Linked DNA regions of Homo sapiens: all the other regions are linked to region 2. Evidence: promoter capture Hi-C in human tissues and cell types (Jung and others, 2019). All regions are on one chromosome and are shown on one strand. Each heading gives the region's core, a stretch centred on a gene start or on the middle of the fragment in contact. The rest is flanking DNA. Distances are from core to core; before and after follow the strand shown.

Region 1 (4,754 bases), core at 330-2,829, 58 kb after region 2:
TGGGATGGCATATTCCAAAGTCAAACAGAAAGGGACTGGGGGCTTTCTGCCAGTCTCTGGGCCACAGCTCTGTTGGTTGCTGGAAGCAGATGGAACCCAAGAATGGGGGCAGCAGAGGGGCACTGGGGTCATCTCTTCCATCCTGTGTTGGGTTTAAAAATAGACCTAAGGGAGGGTCTGGACGGGCAAAAGACCTTCTCCTGCTTCTCCTTATTATGGGGCCTGTAGAGGGGAGGTCAGGAACCACGCCCCATCCTGTGGTTTACAGGACCCCTCCCTAATAAAGCAGAGGGCTGGGAGGCCGTGCATTCCAGGGTACATAATTAAAACCAATGAGGGTTATTTGGAATAACAGACCGTTTAGTCGGAAGCACTTGCCATGCTAATTCAAACAAGGTGATTACAGGCGATTAGCAAGCCTAATGGCTTCAGTTTAAAAACAGCCTAGCGGAGAGATGAGCGAGTGGCCTCTGCTGCTTCCGGTGAGCAGTGGAGGGGACTGACCTGGGACTGAAATTCACAAGGTCAGTGCCACGGGGGCTTGTGGGCCTCCCACCTAGGTAAGACACTGGCCCAGTGCAAACTGCTTCCAGGGTGGAAGAGGCTGACCCTGCCTGGGGAGAGTCAGAAGTCAACCTGTTCAAGCATACCCAGACACCTTTGCCTGCCCCACAGAAACTGGGTCTTTCCTGTCTCTTTAGCCCCATCCCCTGTGGCCTCTTCAGTACAGAGGCTGGGTCTTGAGGCCCCTGCATCCTTGAAAGGGAATGTTTATGGGTATACCTACACACACCTAATATCTTTTTTTTTTTTGTTTTTTTGAGACAGAGTTTCTCTGTTGCCTAGGCTGGAGTGCAGTGGCGTGATCACGGTCACTGTAGCCTCATATTCCCAGCTCAGGTAATCCTCCCACCTCAGCTCTCTGGTAGCTGGGACTAGAGGCACATGCCACCATGCCTGGCTAATTAAAAAAATTTTTTTTGTAGAGATGGGGGTTACCCTATATTGCCCAGGCTGGTCCCAAACTCCTGGGCTCAAATGATCTGCCTGCTTCAGCCTCCCAGAGTGTTGGGATTACAGGCATGAGCCACTGCATCAGGCCCACACACCTAATATCTTATTCAGCACTGTACTAAGCAATTCATACATGTCATCTCATTAATTCATTTAAGTCAGCACCAATTGTTGTCTCCATATGACGGAGGAGGAGCTTGGATGCAGACAGATTGTCTGAAAGTGACAAAGCCAGGCCTGTTACCCAACTCCTCCTGTCTCTGAAACCCTTCTATTATCTTGCTGAATGCATATCACAAGGTGGGCACTTTCACTGCAATTCCCATCTTACAGTCTAGGGGACTAAAGCTCAGAGGAACTAAGGAACTTGCCAAAGGTCCCTGTCACCTGGCGAATGGCAGAACTGGGATTTGACCCTGATTTTGCTGATGCAAAACCTTCGTTCTCAAGCACCCTGGAGAGGGAGCAGAATTGCAGCCAAGCTTGGATGGAGAGGGGAACAGCAGGGAGACTTGTCAGGGAAGGGCATCCGAGGCACAGGGAATGGCACAGATACACAAAATAGGGAGTTTTCGGTGGCTAGAGACCAAAACCCCACACTGACCTGCTTAAACTTATTTAATAAGGAATATGTATTATCACCAGAAACAAGAAGTCCTGAGGACTGCCTAATTTAGAGGCTTCATGCTGTCCTCAAGTACACAGGCCTCCTGCCTTTCTGCCTCCCTTCCATCAGATATTGCTAGGCACCTTTCTCTGTACCAAGCATGCTCTTAGGCTCTGGGGTTACAGTGGGGAAAAAAACCAAGTCCTTGCCTTGGTGGCGCTTACATTATTGTGTGAAAGATGATTAAATAGACGCATACACACACGCTGTATATATATCATGTATATTATATGTATGGCATATATACATGATACATAGGGCGAGAATGCCTAATATGAAAATCCAAAATGCTTCAAATTCTGAAACTTTTTGAGCGCCAACATGATGCCACAAACGGTAAATTTTACACACAGTCTCACTTGATGGGTCACAGTGAAAACGCAGGTGCAGAACACGGTTTATTCTGGGTCCCCAAAGCAAAAATGAAATTACATTCAGGCTGTGTACATGAGGTGCACATAAATCATAAATAAATTTTGTCTTTAGACTTGGGTCCCATCCTTCAGATATCTCATTATGTAATGTGAATATTCCAAAATCTGAAAAAAAAAAAAAAAAACAAAAAACCCTGAAATCTGCAACACCTCTGGTCTCAACTATTTCAGATAGGGGATACTCAGTCTGTTTAATATGTACTCATATATAAGTGTTTATGATATATTATATAGACACAGTGTATGTGTATATTATACACAATGCATGTGTATGTAATTTAAATATATAACACAATGTCAATTAAAAGCTATGAATAACAAAGCAAGAGAATAGAATGGCAGAGGGGAGAGAAGTCAGAGGAGTCTATCTGAGGAGCTGATATTTGAGCAGAGACCTTAATGAAGTGAAGGGGTGAGCCAGGTGAGAGCTGAGGGAAAGTGTTCTTGGCAGAGGGAATTGCAGGTGCAAAGGCCCTGGGGTAGGGTGGTGCTTGCAGTGGAATGTGTGAGTTGTGCATGCTCTGAGGGTCAGGTTCTCGTGCAGATGAGTCCCCCTCATGGTGGCCAAGTGACCATAGCAGTTCCAGGCACCATAGGCAGACATGACGCTGGCCAGTGAATAAGAGGGGGGTCTCTTCCCTGTATATCATGCCTTTTGTAAATCAATGAAGAAACTCTTCCTGAGAGCCCCAGCAGGTTTCTCATTAATCTTCTTGGACAGAATTATATCACAGACCCATGTCTAAACCAGTCCCAGACAGGGGAATGGGACCTACGGTGGTTGGCTTAGTAAGGGAGACACCCTTGGAACTGGCAATGGGACCATCCTTTGACTGGTAGGGGAGAGGAGGTAGATATTCCCCCCCAAAAAATGGGGCCCTGCCAGGAAGGAGGAGGAGAAAAGGCTGCCAGGCAGGCAACCACTGTGTCTGGCATGGCAGGAGCTGAGTTCTGGCTGATGAAAGCATTTCCATGTGGCTATGCCCCTGATTACTGTATCAAGTGGGCCTGTGGGCCTGCTCCCCCTTTCTTCCTGGAGCACCTCTCTTCTTCGCCTTCATCCCCCATCCCCCAATCTACCTCAACACTTGGCTTTCAGAATAACTCCATGCTGGGGAAAAGAAGCAGCTGAACTAAAACAATGAACTAAAAAGCCCATCTTTTGACAATATTCACATTTGGAGAAGTAAAAAATTAAATGACGTGCTGGTATTTTGAAAACGAAGGTTTCACAAGTCTATTTAAAAGAAAGTGTCCCTTAAAGCAGTTGGAGGAATATCTTGCCCCTGGTTTAGATTTTCTAAGGCCTGGGCTTGACAGAAACCCACACAGCCATTGCCCTGCTTACCTTGCCCCATCATCGCCATGACCAGGAGGTGCATGGGAAGGAGTCTAGAAATCTGGGAGGCTGGGACTCTGTACAAGAGCTATGCAGTCTGAGGTCTGAGCTGGAAGGGAGCCTGGAGGATTGGAGGCTCAGAAGGCTCAGACAGTCAATCGTTGGAGATTCTTCTGCAGGGGATGAGGAGGTGGCAGCTGCTAGGAAGGAGAGAACTTGGGCCATACCAGAGTCCAGACCCCTTGTTTGGCTGAGAGCAGGGAGGTATTCCCTCTTGGTTGCAAGTGGCAGAAACCTAATGAAAACTGGCTTAAGCAAAAAGGAAAATATATTGGCTCCTGTAATTGAGAATTCCAAGTGTCAATGGCTTCAGGCATGGCTAGATCCAGCGGTTCTGTGTCTTTGTCTCTCTCTACCTCTGACTCTGCTTTTCTCTGTGGCTTTCTTTCAGGCAGTCTTTCTTTCTCCACAGTGGGAAAGACACCCACTGGAAGCCTAAGACATACGTGGTGCTGCCATCTTGGGATCCTAAGGAGGAGACACTCTATCTCTTCCAGCATCCATATAGCAAAGGCGTGAAAGCACACTGACCTTCCCTGCCTGGGTTGCATCTCCAATTCGTAGTCCATTTACTATGGATGGGGGTGGGGTGGGGTGGGGTTCCACAATTTGTAGGCATGGATTGTGTGCCTACCTCTGTCATCAGGGGACAAGCAGGGCACTGAGATTGTTCCCTAGGAGCTGTGGGATGGAGTGGCAGATGCCCTAATAGACATGGATCCTGCAGAATGAACCACAGCTGCCCACCTTAGGAAGTGACTGGTTCAGTATCACCCTAGTGCTAAGAGGCAAAGTCTGCTTCAGCCCAGTGTCCTTAGCCATGGTCCAGTGTGCTTCCCATCATGCCACAGGCCTGCAGAGGACACTGGGAGTCTCTTGTTGGGGCTGAAGTGTCTATGATGATTATGATGGGGTTAGGGTGGGTGTGGCCAAGGTCTTAGCCATGATCTCAGGCAGCCGTGATGTAATGGGCAGGTCTGGGCTCAGTGTCCCTGAGAGGATTCTGACTCTGCCTTTTCCTTTGTAATTGGGACAACTTAGTTAACTTTGTAGACCCTCAGTTTTCTCATCTATAAAAGGGGTGATATGGCCCAGCTCTGTGTCCCCACCCAAATCTCATCTTGAATTGTAATCTGAATTGTAATTCCCACATGTTGGGGGAGGGACCTGGTGGGAGGTGATTACATCATAGGGGTGGTCTCCCCAGGCTGTTCTCATAATACTGAGTGAGTTCTCACAA
Region 2 (4,228 bases), core at 697-3,196:
TCTCTGCGTGTGTGTGTGTAGAGTGCAATTGTAGACAAGCATATGACTGTGAATGTTTGTCAGCAGCCATCTATGAACTAGTTCTGCGCCTGTGAAAGAAGGAACCTGAATACGAGAAAATATCTGCCATCGGCTGTTTTCCCAAAGTTATTCTAGCCACCAAGGCCTCCGCCGTGTCCCAGCCTCTGTCCCCAGGCCTAGTGCCTCTCCATCAGCCTGGATCAGGGCAAATTCCCTGCCCCCAACTCTTCCCACCAGGGCCGGACCTGAAGGCCAAGGCCTCCGGGTATGTGCTCAGGACTCCTGGCCCAGAGAAGGTTTTTCCCTTTCTGCGTCTTTGCTTCCCCTTCCGCTTTGGGGTTCAGGAACCCCGATTCTCTGGAAGAAGAGAAGGCCTAGGCTACTGAGCTGCTCTGGCTAGAGACGTCCTTGAGTGTCTCTCTCTCCCGGGCAATGGTGGCTGTGCTCTGGGGGGCCCAGGCCTGCCTCCTGTGGCTGCGTTCAAGGCAGCTTGGAGGTCATTTAGGCCAGCTCCCCCGGGTTCCCCGTGGGCTCAAATCAGGACCCAGACCCTTCTCTCTTGCCACAGCTCTGGGCCACCTGGGACTCGGGACTTCCTGTCTCCCTTCCTACTCTGTCCTAAACCATTGTTCAGAGGCCTGCCGCCTCCAAGAATCGCCGAGGGAGAAGCTCCAGGGGAACTGGCCTGCCCGCATCCCCACTGCCAGTAGCGCTCAGGGTCCCAGGACTCGGGTCTTGCCAGACCACAGTGTCCCCTGGGACCCTAGGGTCTCTGGCTCCGCACTGTGTTGCGCCAGTGCGCCTGGATTTCCCGTGAGCTTTCGGCCAACCACGCTCCGGGCTTCCCGCCTGGCTCCGCACCTGCGGCGCTCTCACCTGCGGCGGCGCCGCCCGAGGAGCCTCCCAGCCGGCGAGGAGCGAGGCTTCTGCAGTCCTGCTGTCCCGCAGCCCCGCAGCCCCGCAGCCTCGCAGCCCCGCAGCCCCGCAGCCCCGCAGCCCCGCAGCCCCGCAGCCCAGCGCCAGAGCGCTGCGCGGAGACTCCTTGCCGCCGCACGCCCTGGGCCGGTAAGAAGCATCCGCTTCAAATCCCGCCCAGCGGGCAGCGCAAAGCGAGCGGTTTGGGGAAATGCCGAAGGGACCGGGAAAAACAAACTCCAAGTCGAGTTTAACAGCCGAAACGCTCCGTGCCTAGGCCGGCGGACAAGAAGGAGACAGAACAGATCCCTTGGCTCCCTCGCAGCGATCGATCCCGTTTACCGACCAGAGTCACCACCCCGCCCCCAGCCCGCCAACTCATACCTCCCGCAAGCCACCAGTTTCAAGGGATGCGGAAGCCAAGCACCCCGTGGTCCCCAGCACCAGGTGACCCGCACGTGCACTCACCGTAGCAGGGAACCTGCAAGGCCGCGCTGTGGCCGCTGCTGCCTTCCTGGAGTTTGAGGCTGCCGTCCGGGGGCGTCTTGCAGGCGCCTCGCTGCAAGTAAAGATGCGGTTGCGCGGGCGGCTGGGGCTGCGGCTGCTGCTGCTGCGGCTGCGGCTGCGGCGGCGGCTGGGGCTGCGGGGTCGACGGCTGGGGCTGGAACTTGTTAAAGGAGCCCCGCGCCCCAGCTCCACTCTCCAGGGGTGTCGCCAGGTCCTGCTGCCCAGCGCCGTAACGGGCCCGGCTCTTGGCGTCCCCGAATCCCTGTGCTTTGGCGGCGGCCGACAGGAAAGTTGTGCCGAACTTGTCGCCTCCGGGAAATGCCCTAAAAGGCGACGAGCCCTCCCGACTCTGCGACACCGGGCTGTAGTAGGCGTCCATGGCAGCGGCCGGCGACTCGCAGTAAGAGACGCAAGTCTCAGCATTCATGCCTGGCTTGCGCAGGCGGCGGGCGGGGACGCGAGCGAGGGCGCGAGGACGCCACCGCGCGCCTTGGCTGGGAGTTTGGGGAGGCGAGGAGGCTGTGGCTGTGCACTCCTTGCCCGGCCTGCTCGCTCTCCCTCCTCCCCTCCACGCCGGCCTCTCTCTCTCTCCCCCTCTTCTTTCTCTGTCTCTCTCCTCTCTCTCCCTCCTCTCTCTCTCTTCCCCTCCCTCCCCCCCCCTTCCTCTCTCTCTCCCTCTCTCTCTTTCCTCCCTCCCCACAGCTAGCCGAGGGAAAGAACGGAGGGCAGTAAAAAGATTCAGATGTTTCGGAAAGTTGACCAGATCTCCCAAACCCTCTTAAGGTTTTGCAGCGGAAAAAAAAAATAAGTAAATTTTTTTCCCTGCCTTGCTTCTTCCTTTCCCCCTCTCTCGTCCCCTCCTCCTCTCTCCTTCCACTGGCCCCTGCCCCCTCCTCTCCACTCTTAAGGAGATGCTACTAACTCGCTAGCGGGGATTCAACCCGGAGGCGCCCGAGGGCTTTTCCGATTCTAGGCGGGGCTGGGGAGATGCCAGGATCCCCAGGGCTCCCGAGGCTAGGCTGAGAATTGGCGGGGTGTCGGAGCTTTGCCTTAGGGCAAAGGGAAATGCAAATTTTAATGACAGGTTAAAAAAAAGCCCCCCAAAATAAACCTAACAGGTTTTGACATTCGAAGCCAGGGGGACCACGGGCCTGCGGATGCAAGCGAGTCCTACGGACTCCTGCGCGCGAGCTCGCGGGCGCCGCTGCGGGCCTTCCCGCTGGCACCTTTTCCTAGGTTTCCAACCTTCCTCCCCATTCCCGTTCCTACGGGAGATTAACACACACACAAGCCTTCGTCGTCCAGTGCATGGTCACTTGCACGTCTTGTTAACTATTTCCCTCTGCTGTAAGGGCGCTGGGCTGGGATGTAGCGGAATCTGTGCTCCCTCAAGCCCTGGAGAAGCCCTGGGCTGGGCCCGGCTTCAGAAGCTTTAGAGCGCTGCCCTCTGCGCTCCCGTCTAGAGGCCGCACCGTTCACGCCCCACGTCTGCGCCCAGGCGAGGGGATTTCCTGCCAGGCGAAGTACAGAGAGCGGACTCTGGAGACCCCCTGACCTTGCCCGATAGTCGCGCTGTCACCTGTTCACTCCTTGGGGTCAGGGGTCGGGGAGAGGGGTGAGACCGTCTCTTCCCTTTCTGGCCTCACTGCCCCCGACTGTAAAACGAACTGCTTGGTTTTGATAGGTTGTGGTTTCACCACCACTGCGAGCCTCAAGGCCCCTGGCACCGCCACAGCAAGGGAAAAAACTTTGCGCGTGCAGCCCCTCGATTTCGCTTCATGACAACCGTGCTAGAGATTGGCGCCCCCAATTTTCTGATGAGCTAACGGAGGCTCAGAGAGGGGCGGCCACCTGGTCCAGGTCACACAGCTGGGAAATAGCCGTCGCGCCCTGGAACCTCTGCTCAGGCTAGTCCCTCCACCGACCTGGAAGGCCGTGCGGACAGCGTAGATGCAGAGGGGAAACTGGCCCCCGGCTGTGGAATGGTTCAAGTTGAAGGAGACCAGCGAGAGCAGCCTTCCTTAAACCGCTGAGAAAATCGTTAAGCGAGAACGTACCTCTAGGGAGTCTGGGAGTAGGGTGAGAGGTAAAAGTGCAAGGTAAAATTAAAGAGGGCCTGAGCACCGTGAACCAAGGAATGTGGGTCAGATGTCAACTTTCTGCATCTAAGGTCTCCCAAAGAAAAAATATACCTGGGGGGTCGCGCTTCTGCTCCCAATCTCATCTGGGCTAATTCTTACCCCCACCCTACCCCCTTAGTATCTCTGGTCCTTGCTCCGCCGCCGACCGCGCGATCCCACATCTGGTTTCCATCGCCGGCTTACCTTGAAGTGCTCGTTAATAAAGATATTCCGCAAACCAAGCCAGGAGCGCGCAGGCTCCAGCCGCCCCCCACTCCATGCCCAATGGGAACCGCGCCTCACTGGCCCGCAGACCTAAGCCACTTGAGAGTCCTTTATTTATTGAGCTCCTGTTGTGCCAACAATCTGGCAATACAAGGCTTATCATACCCATTTTGCATATGGGTAGACTGAGACTCAACCAAAATAATTTTCCAGTTAGCAAAAAGCGGAGTGCTCCTGCCATCATCCTAAATGCTCCTGTCCAGCGGTTTCTTCAAGTTCCTAGAACCTGCCAAGGTCTCTAGCCTGTGCACTGTAGCATAGGTGGTTTCCCCTACCTGGAATTCCCTAAACTCATTCCTGCACTTTTGTCTGGCTAATGATTCAGAGTTCAGCCTAGAGCATCTTCCTCTAGGAAGACTTCCCGTCTCTCCTAGTTTAAG
Region 3 (4,216 bases), core at 799-3,298, 40 kb after region 2:
TATGCCTCATTAATCCTATTCTTCCCAAGTTCGCACGCTTGGCCCCAGTTCCCATTCAAGGAAATCTTCTTGAATGCCACATGGGACTGGCCCCCTGGTTATTCGTGTCAGTTTTAGTGTCCAGCCTCTTTTGCCCCATTGGAGGTCTAAGTTGCAGTCCTGAACTGCCGTACCTTGCTCTGGAAGAAGCTTTTCTCTCTGGACACAGCAGTTTTCCTGCAATGATCACCAACCTTTGGTCACCTCCCAGGGTTGTTCCCGGGCCTGCCAAGGCTGGTCGCCTTCTGCCTCTGAACTGACTGGATTCATTTCCGTCTTCCCAGGGCTGGAGGAGCCTGACTTCTCCAGCCACAGAGAATTCCCACAGTCTTTGGGTTTTCAATTTTTGGATCAGTGTGTTGGAGCCCGAGGCCCTTTGGACTGCCCATATGTCTCAGATTTCCAGCTATAGTTTCAAACCCTCAGTGCCATTGTCCCTGTTGAGTGTCAGCCTAGGATCCTTGAATTTTAGTCTGCAAATAATACTGTTATTTTATTTGACCATAAACTGAGCACTTGTCTTTTCTAGGCACTTACTTAATCCTCACAGCTGCCCTGGGAGGTGGCAGTATTAGTACAATGCCCACTTTACAGATGAGGAAGCTGAGGCTCAGAAGGTTACGTAACATGCCCATGTTCACAGAGCATGGAGTGGCAGAGTTGGAACACAAAGCCATTTGTGTTCCAACACAAAGCCAGAACACCATTTGTTCTGCTTCCAAATATGGTGCACTGATTAAAAAGAAGGGCAACTGGCGTCCCCAAGACCCCTCAGCCTCTAACTTGCTCAGTGACACTGAATCTCTTGGGAGGTGTTCCCCATCTGGAACGGGGAGGGTGAAGAACTTCCCAGCCAGAAACCCGTCCCAGCCTTGGAAGACACCAATGGCTGGCTGCTGCACCAGGCTGGCTGTCACAAACTGTTCAGAAGGTGCAACTGGCCATGAAAGGTGAACTGTTGGGAGCAGAACTGCCTGGGGCTGTGTCAGAGGCGCCTGCCTGAAACTCTGCTGCTTCACTTGCCATGGCCCCGCTCAATCCCTAGGTCTGTTCTGCCACCCAAACCACGAGCCTCGGGATGACAGCCACAGGCCCCCTCCCATCCACCCCTCGCTTTCCTCCTTCCCTGGCAAGGGAGAAATCCAGGCCCCGAGTCGGTCAATGCCCCAGTGTTCCTGGCATCACCAGCCTCGGGGTTACTTTGCTGTCTTCAAAAAGGATCTGCCTTCCTTCCCCTCTGCCATCCCCATGGAGGCTTCACAGGCCTGCGGGTTCACCGGGCTGGGAGCACACATGGCCTCTTTGTGGCTATTCCCCCAAGGCCCTGCCATCTTTGAGGATGACAAACAGCCTTTGAGGAGAGAGTCACGTTTGCACACAGAAGACCACCACTTAACTTGTCCAAAAGCATTTTTATTTCCTTTGGCAATTTGTTTTCCTTTGGGTGAGAATAAAATGATGCAGGAGATTTGCATGCTCTGATATTTTTTCTCCCATTTCCCTCTTTCCTGTTTTCTGCCAGCCACTCCTTAGCTGTGCTGAGAAGTTGCCCTGAATGCACCCTCTAGTAGCTCTGGAAAGCTGCCTTATCTCTGTTTCTGTGGCCTGTGCAGGGTTTCAGGCTCAGCATCCCTCCCTGGAATGAGCCTGGCTGGTACCTGGTCTCTGGGCTTCCACTTCTGCTGCCTGGGATCCTTATGGTGGTCAGGATGACCTTGCAAGCAAGAATGCTAGTCTGATCCCACTGGCCCAGGCCACGTCTTGGACTGTCTCCTCCCCTCTCTTCCTCACCATTCTGGCCTCCTCCAGGCAGGCTTCCAGCTCAACACCTCTGCCTGGAATGCTTTTCTCCCAAATATCCATGTGGCTCCCTCACCTCCTCTAGGTTTCCCCGAGGTCACCTTCTCAATGAAGAAGCCTTGTCTGTCTACCCCATTTCAAGTGCTGCCCCTCCCCCAATTCTCCCAAGGCCGGCTGCCCCCAGTGCTTGATTTTTCTTCATCTCATTGATCACCTTCTGACCAGAGGTGGAGTCTCCAGCAAGCTGATGATTCCTAAGTTTCAGGACCCCTCACTGGTAGCTTCCAAGGCTTTGCACCTCAACTGATATTTACAATTTTTTATTCTTTTTTAATCTTAAAGAGTTCCTTACCCTGACATTATATGAGATCACTTCAGGCTCTGTGAAAGCCTGGATTTGCCTGCCTCTGCCTCTGACAACTCATCTGTTTTTATTTTGTTTATTGTGTCTTTCCCTCTACCATTAAAATGTAAACTCCACGAGGGCAGAAGTTTTTGTCTTTTTTTTTTTTGAGATGGAGTCTCGCTCTGTCGCCCAGGCTGGAGTGCAGTGGCATGATCTTGGCTCACTGCAGCCTCTACCTCCCGAGTTCAAGATCCTCCTGCCTCAGCCTCCCAAGTAGCTGGAACTACAGAAGCATGCCACCACACCTGGCTAATTTTTGTATTTTTAGTAGAGACGGGGTTTCACCATGTTGGCCAGGCTGGTCTCGAACTCCTGACCTCAGGTGATGCATCCACCTCGGCCTCCCAAAGCGCTGGGATTATAGGTATGAGCCACTATACCCAGCCTTTTTTTTAACTGTTTTATCCCCAGGGTCCAGAACAGTGACTGTACACAGTAGGAGCTCAATAAATCTGCTGAATGTATGTCATTCCCAGGCTCACATTTCTTTCAAGGGTTTCCCTTTCAGACTCCTTAACACCCCCATCCTTCAGCTTCCCTATTGTCTCGTACACTGGGATCCAGCCATCTTGCCCTCTTTCTGCTCCCAGATGTGCTAAGCTGCGGACTCAGGCCCTTGGAACACGCTGTTTCTTTTCTCTGGATGTTCTTCCTTTCCCCTTCCCCTCCTTATTCCTTAGATCTCTACTGGAATGTCACCTGCTTGCCTGGGCTCAGCCCAGCCCTGGGGTTATGTGCTCTCCAGGACCTCGGAGTCTGTCTTTACAGTGCTTGCTCTCACTGTCATGCACAGTCTCTGCCATTGGTGGTTTGGTAATTCATTTCCTCCTAAGGACTGTAAAAGCTCCATGAGGGTAGGCCGTGCTCAGCTGGGGTGCTGCGGTAACCCCAGCATAATCCCCGGCACTTAGGCCTTTTCATTGACCAGTAAATATCCGCTGAGGAAATGAGTGAATTAAAACACACTCGAGGCAAGACAGGAATCAGGCACAAATATTATCCAAATAAACAAAATCAGAATCCATGGCATGTCAGAGATGGGAGAAGGTTTAGAGATGGTCTAGTCTGCAAGTTGCAGAATGCGCTCTGCTCCCTCGTGCCTCTGTAGAGGTGTCCCCAAATCTGCTGCTGCATGTGTGCACATGTGTATGTGCATGTGCGCGTGTGTATGTATACATGTGTGCACACACATACAAGTGTTGCAGGGGGTGGGGCCGTCAGGCAGGCAAAAGAGGTGGCAAATGAAAACATCTCAGTTCCCCATTTCCACTTCAAACACAAAGAAGTTCTGCTTTATCTGTTTCTATATTGAACGTCTGCTTCCGATTTTGTTTGAAGAGAAATAGGACTTCCAGCCGAAATGAAATTTGGAAACTGACCAAATCCCTCCTCCCTATTTTATGGATGGGGAAACTGAGGCCCAGAGAGCAGAGGTACCTGCCTAAGATCACAGAGGGAGTGAGCCACAGGGCTGGGACATGCACACTGGGACACAGGGGACATCCAGCCCCCTCTGCCTGACTTTGGCAGAGCACCATTATTCTCAGCTGTGACCAGGTGGCTGAGCACCTGGATGTCCTGGAGCTCACAGAGAAGCTCCAGGGATCACTGGCACTTTAATCCCATCATGTGAATCAGGAATCATTTTCCTAGCAGAAGACATGACTTCCTGGATGCATACAGTAAAAATCACAACGTTGAGTATTACACTGAAGGGGGGAAATCCCAATATGGAAGACTAACTCTCTTCTGAGTCTTTCTGTTCATATTCTTTGGCTGCTTGTTCATTTATACAATTGTCTGGAGGTGCTCCTTAGAGGAGACACAGTAAAAAGCACCAAAGGTTTCAGGAAAATCTGTGGGAGCAAAACTTAAATGAGGCCATTTCTCATATATTTTGATGGTGGAACAAATACCTCTGGCCAAAGGGATCTCCATGGGGGAAGAAAAAAACATTATTTTTCATTGTTT

What was found. Contacts are between HindIII fragments. The study calls those that stand out against the background at their distance.
Region 1: a contact is called between a fragment that was not itself captured here and the fragment with the promoter of ALX4 in region 2, in 1 of the 25 tissues and cell types used here (mesendoderm cells).
Region 3: a contact is called between a fragment that was not itself captured here and the fragment with the promoter of ALX4 in region 2, in 2 of the 25 tissues and cell types used here (neural progenitor cells and thymus).

What each region holds. Positions count from the first base shown.
Region 1 is chr11:44,366,475-44,371,228 of GRCh38, forward strand. No RefSeq gene overlaps it. Among named protein-coding and RNA genes, the nearest start is that of ALX4, 59 kb to the left of the region's middle. The HindIII fragment of the contact is 4,409 bases long and covers 1-3,784 here.
Region 2 is chr11:44,308,193-44,312,420 of GRCh38, forward strand. It overlaps ALX4 (ALX homeobox 4), which reads right to left and starts at 1,947. Exons shown (of 4, transcript NM_021926.4): 1 at 1,405-1,947. The coding sequence starts at 1,870. RefSeq lists an enhancer at 1,925-2,853. The HindIII fragment of the contact is 16,665 bases long and covers 1-4,228 here.
Region 3 is chr11:44,347,689-44,351,904 of GRCh38, forward strand. No RefSeq gene overlaps it. Among named protein-coding and RNA genes, the nearest start is that of ALX4, 40 kb to the left of the region's middle. The HindIII fragment of the contact is 7,828 bases long and covers 1-4,216 here.